Linked DNA regions of Homo sapiens: region 1 is linked to region 2. The links are contacts of gene promoters, found by promoter capture Hi-C in blood cells and fetal thymus (Javierre and others, 2016). All regions are on one chromosome and are shown on one strand. Each heading gives the region's core, a stretch centred on a gene start or on the middle of the fragment in contact. The rest is flanking DNA. Distances are from core to core; before and after follow the strand shown.

Region 1 (2,818 bases), core at 228-2,727, 250 kb after region 2:
ACCCCACAGTGCCAGTCACCCACCCCACTTGGCTGGCCTCTCTACACCGGGCCGGCACCCCACAGCGCCAGTCACCCACCCCACGCGGCTGGTCTCCCCGCACCGGGCTGGCACCCTGCAACGCCAGTCACCCACCCCACGCAGCTGGCATCCCCGCACCGGGCCGGCATCCCACAACGCCAGTCACCCACCCCACGCGGCTGGCCTCCCTGCACCGGGCTGGCACCCCGCAACGCCAGTCACCCACCCCACGAAGCTGGCCTCCCCGCACCGGTGCCAGCACCCCGCCGCGCCAGTCACCCAGAGTCCTCCTGCCCCAGGAATGAAACCATCCTCAGGCCGGGCGCTGTGTCCTCAGTGGTGGTGTCTAGGGATGGGGTACACAGCCCAGCCTCTGCCCAGGGCTCGGAAGCCCTTGGCCAAATCCCGGCTACTCCCTGCTCCGGCAGGCTGAGCGATGCCCGTGCATGCTGAGCCAACCAACCAACAAATGTCCCTGCCTTGTGTGCCGTGTGCATGCCGGGGCGGACGGCCTGCTTGCTATGGATGTGGGGCTCCCTGCAACCCCATGAGGCCCTGCAGCAGCCTGGCTGTGTCCCCGCACCCCTGTGTGTTGGCAGAGGTCAACACCACCGGACCCCTCCACGCTGGCCCCCTGCCTCTCCATTCCCGCTTCCTCCCTGTGAACGTGCTGTCATACCGACCCCTCCACACTGGCCCCCTGCCTCTCCATCCCCGCTTCCTCCCTGTGAACGTGCTGTCATTCCGACCCCTCCACACTGGCCCCCTGCCTCTCCATCCCCGCTTCCTCCCTGTGAATGTGCTGTCATTCCCGCTTCCTCCCTGTGAACGTGCTGTGCCCTAAAGCCACGCTTCCTCCAAAGGCTGCACTCCATCCGCCCAGGTGATAAGAGTCGCTCAGACACTGTTGCTTATACGGCCGCACACACATCTCTAGCTGGTTTCTTGTTCCAATAATACTGGTATTTTTTAAAAGCAAATTTGATTCCTTGATCCACCGTGGCTGGGTGTTTTGTAAAAGGTAGAATTAAATACCAGGTGTGTGTTAGATAATTGAACCAAGCTCACAAGGCACAGGTCAGTGAGTGTGACAATTGTCAGAGGCAGGCAGAGACCGTGATGGCCTCGGCTCTTACAGAGAACATTCCCCAAGGGAGCAAAGCCTGGCAGGAGGCCTCCCTTGGAATTCACCAGAAACTTCAGATGCCAGTTACAGGGGAGCATCGAAACCGAGAATGCCGCATTTATGCCCAGGCCCTCGCCCGCAGCGACCTAACCCCTTCCAGAGGCTCTGCTGGCTGGGGCTTGCACCTCTTCCCTGCAGCCGCTGGAGATCCCATGTCTGTTCCTGCACCCCGCAGGGTGAACCTTCAGAGGCCCAGCGCCAGGGTCCCTGTGCTGCTGAGAATGAAACCCGCCCTTGGGGGATGAAGTGCCTCTCCACCAGCTCCGGGGTCACAGTGTCGCTAAAACATCCGGCTGGGCTCTGCAAAATGGCGTCTTGGGGGCACAGCCTCTTCACAGCCACAGGGCCTCCCGGGAGGAGCACAGGCTTCTGGGTGTGCTCTGTCCCTGGGACCCTCAGCTCACAGGCCAGGAGGTGGGACCCCGGTGGCTGAGGAAATGGCCACACGCTCCCCATGTCCCGTGCGACTGCTATGGAAAGAGGTGATTCCCTAAAGGAAATGGGGGAGGGGGCGCCACCCAAATCAGGGAGAATGGGTGCTGTGGCCGAATACACAAACGTGTCGCCGTAGCATCTCACAGGCCCCACATCCAAAACAGGCCCCACATCCATTGCTCCAAACCTGCTCCCGGCCCCTCGGTCCTCCCCATGGCTCCAGCCGCCCCCTGCCCGGTGTCCCACTGGCAAGCCCTCGTCCTCCCTTTCTCCCTCCGCCCCCTCCAAGCCATTGGCCCATCCTGTGGATTCCACTCCGAATCCAACTCAGATTAATCAGCACAACCTGTGGACTCCACTTTGCATCCATCTCGGATCAATCGGCCCATCCTGTGGACTCCACTCCGAATCCATCTTGAGTGCACCTGCTGTCTCCCTCTCCATAGTGCCCCCTGGCGCCCCCGCCCCCACTTAAGCCTCCAGCCTCCCAGCCTCCCAGCCTCCTCCTCCCTCAACCCGACTCACCAGCAAGAGGGACCCCTTGAAGACCCGAGTCCCAGCGTGCGGCTCCTCAACCTCCTCCAGTCTCTCCTCGCAGGAGGGTAAGCTCCAAACCCCCAGGCTGCCCGACGGAGCCCACGGCACCAGACTTCTCCCCACCAGCTCTGCCCAGGAGGCCTCTGCAGGAGGCCCCGGCCCACTGGCTCCTGGACCCCTCACCCTCTGCTCAGCCCGGCCTTTGCCTGTGATGCTCCCAGAACGACCCTTTACAGCTACTGCAGATGGGAAGCCCCCTCCCCCCCGCCCGGGGCTGTGTGGGTTCATGGGGTGCGCCCTGGGCCGCTCCTCACCGCCTGGAGCGCTGGATGCTCCCTTCATCCATTTTCACTTGTGTATCGTCCATCTCCCCAAATCCACGAGGCCCACAGCTGCCGAGCGTTTTCTCCACTGTTATCCTAGCACCAAGCACAATGCCGGCCACCTGATGGGTAGTAAATAAGTGTAGAGAGAAAGAGAGGGAGAGAGGGAGAAACAGGAAGGAAGGAGAGTGGGAGGGAGAGAGGAAGGAAGGGAGGGAGGGACAAAGGGAAAGAGGGGGGAAGGAAAAGGGAACTTGTAAACTTCTAACATTTAACAATTTGTTGGCAGATTACTGCATAAAGATGTGATTTTTGG
Region 2 (2,857 bases), core at 18-2,517:
TACCTGTAAATAATACTGTTCACCGAGAAGGTACGCCCATCGAAGGAGTTGGCCACCACCAGGAAATAATCTTCTCCCACCGAGAAAAACTCCCAGTCCAGAGCACTGCAGGAACAAGTGGGTGGATATTAGGACACAACAGACATCGCCAGGGAACTGGGGGATTGGCCAGAAGCTACCTCCAAAATTTATAGAGGAGGAGCCGGGGCCAAAGTGGGGAGTGATTTTCTCACAGTCACATATGTGTTGGTCTATTCCAGGAAAATGTAAATTAGTTGTTTGCTTAAAAAAAATTTCAAATTTTATTTTATTTTATTTTTGAGATGGAGTCTCATTCTGTCACCCAGGCTGGAGTGCAGTGGCGAGATCTCGGCTCACGGCAACCTCTGCCTCTCGGATTCAAGCGATTCTCCTGCCTCAGCCTCCCGAGTAGCTGGGATTACAAGTGTGCGGCACCACGCCCGGCTAATTTTTGTATTTGTAGTACAGACAGGGTTTCACCATGTTGTCCAGGCTGGTCTTGAACTCCTGACCTCAAGTGATCTGCCCACCTCAGCCTCCCAAAGTGCTGGGATTACAGGCATGAGCCACCATGCCTGGCCTCAAATTTTAAATTATGGTAAAATACATATAACATAACATTTCCCACCTCAACCATCTTTAGGTGCACAGATCAGGGGCATTAAGCACATTCATACTGCTGTGTGGCCGCCCCCACCATCCACCTCCAGAACGCCTTCATCCTGCAAAACCGAAGCTCTGCACCCAGTAAACATCACCCCCTCCCCCCTCCCCCCCCCCCCCCCCCCAGCCCCGGCACCCACCACGCCACTTTCTGTCTCTATGAATTTGACCACTCTAGGGACCTCATATGAATGGAATCGCACGGTATTTGTCCTTTGTGTCTGCCTTAGCTGAGACTCCAGTGACTCAAGGTTCATCCGTGTCGCACTGTGTGTCAGAATCGCCTTCCTTTCTAAGGCCGAGTAACGCTCCGCTGTGTGAATGGACACGTTGTGTTTGTCCATCCGCTGACAGACACTTGGGGAATTTCCTCCATGTGGCTACTGTGAATGCTGCTGCTATGAACACCGGGGTACAAAAGTCCACTTTTAAGAGGTTGAAACAATCAGAGAAAAAGTCTCAGGCTGCTGGTGCCTGCTGGAGGCAGGAGCTTGGTTTCCCGCTCTGGACACTGTGCAGAAATGGCGTCACAGTGCTGTGGCCTCTGTGCCTGGTTTCTTCTCTCAGCATTGTGTCTTCAGCTGTGAGGTCAGCGGCCGTGAGGTCACTCCAGGAGGTGCCTACAGGACCTGCAGGACCTGCTCGTTCACAGATGTTCTCCTAGAAGCAGAAGCTGTTTCTTGTTGCAAACAAATTTGCTGTGTCCTGTCTTAGGAGTCTCACCTGAATTTACCAAGGATGCATCTGTGCTTGGGGATGGCTCGGTTTGAGGGGTCTGAGGAGCGGCTCCCCTGGATCCTTTCCTCCCCAGGAGCCCACCTGCCGAGCTGTCAGCGTCAGCCCCACATCTCAAGATGAGGAAATGGAGGTCGAAGCCATGCACACGCAGGCGTCCTGCTGACATGCAGGCCAGGCGGGTGCCTCTGTATTCAGCAGCCTCAGGGCTGTGGCCAGTTCAGGCAGCAGAGGGGCCTCATCCCGGTGCTTCCCTGCAGGCAGTTGTGGGGCCGGCCTGCAGCAGGGGCTCAGACAGGGCCTTGGGAGAGGGAGGGATCACAGAGGTGTCCAGTGACAGGCAGGGCGGGCAGAGCCCATGGGGCCTTGGGCTCCTCACTCCTTCGGTCAGTCAGGGTGACATCTGGAGCCACCTCCATTAATGGTGGGTTATGATTTGGTTCCCATGCAGCCCGTGCCAGCTCGCTGGGAGGAGGACGAGGACGCCTGTGATCACATGCTCTGGTCTGGAGGCACGGCCGCGGGCCCCGGGTCAGTGTGAATCCGCGGGGTTACTCCTCAGTCGGATCTGAGCTCTGAAACCCAGACCCGAGGAAGACAAGCGGCCACGTCGGATGTACCAGTGGTGGAAGATCCTGTCCGGCTGCACCGAGGCTCACATCAGAAGCCGGCTTCGGTTTCACCACAAAATAAGGCATCTAGTGCCCGATTCTGCCTCCAAAGCAGCCCTGGGTCACACTCGCTGTAGGACAGATGTTATTCTTCAGAATCACGCCCTCTGGCAAATGCCCATCATCGGACAAATGGACGGATGAAGTGTGACTCAGCCATGAGAAGGGGGATGCTCTGAGCCGCGCGGCCACACCACCAACCCGGAGGACACGGTGCTGCGAGAAAAAGCCAGGTACAGAGGCCACGGCTCTACGAGTCCATTTCTGTGCAGTGTCCAGAACGGGAAATCACAGAGACAGGAAGTGGGCCCGGGGGTGCCCAGTTGGGAGGGAGGGGCTGGAAAAGGGTGTGGGGGGCTCCTTGTGAGGGGATGAGAATGTTCCAGAGTTGTCTGCAGCCATGGCTGCACATATCTGTGGATTTAATAGAACTACTGAATCTAAAAAGCAAACACAAGCGACCATTTGAAGGCAGTCAGAGCCAAGGTTACACACAGAAGCCACAAAACCCCTCAGCGCCCTTGAATAGGGTTTTGGACTTGGTGAGGCCACATCACGTCTCCGGGAAGTGTAGGGAATTCCCCATGCTGGGTAGAAGGGCTAGGAGTTTGACTTGTGTGTGCTGTTTTGATGGTAATTATTAAACATTACCTTAATTAATTGGTAAGTACTTTCTGTGTTTCATAATTTAGTTCATAAACTGTCCATACCACTGTCCAGTGGTGACAGGGCCATAAGTCGCGAGTGTGTAGCTGTGTTCTGTCAGT

Evidence for each region. The method cuts DNA at HindIII sites, captures the fragments that hold promoters and counts their contacts. A CHiCAGO score of 5 or more calls a contact.
Region 1: a fragment that was not itself captured here is called in contact with the fragment with the promoter of TSPEAR-AS1 in region 2 in 11 of 17 cell types (total CD8 T cells, naive CD4 T cells, naive CD8 T cells and 8 more); the score reaches 23.4 in total CD8 T cells.

What each region holds. Positions count from the first base shown.
Region 1 is chr21:44,749,969-44,752,786 of GRCh38, forward strand. No RefSeq gene overlaps it. Among named protein-coding and RNA genes, the nearest start is that of TSPEAR, 40 kb to the left of the region's middle. The HindIII fragment of the contact is 6,978 bases long and covers 1-2,818 here.
Region 2 is chr21:44,504,777-44,507,633 of GRCh38, forward strand. It overlaps TSPEAR-AS1 (TSPEAR antisense RNA 1), which reads left to right and starts at 1,268. Exons shown (of 7, transcript NR_103707.1): 1 at 1,268-1,552; 2 at 1,871-2,323. It overlaps TSPEAR (thrombospondin type laminin G domain and EAR repeats), which reads right to left. Exons shown (of 12, transcript NM_144991.3): 11 at 4-105. The HindIII fragment of the contact is 6,455 bases long and covers 1-2,857 here.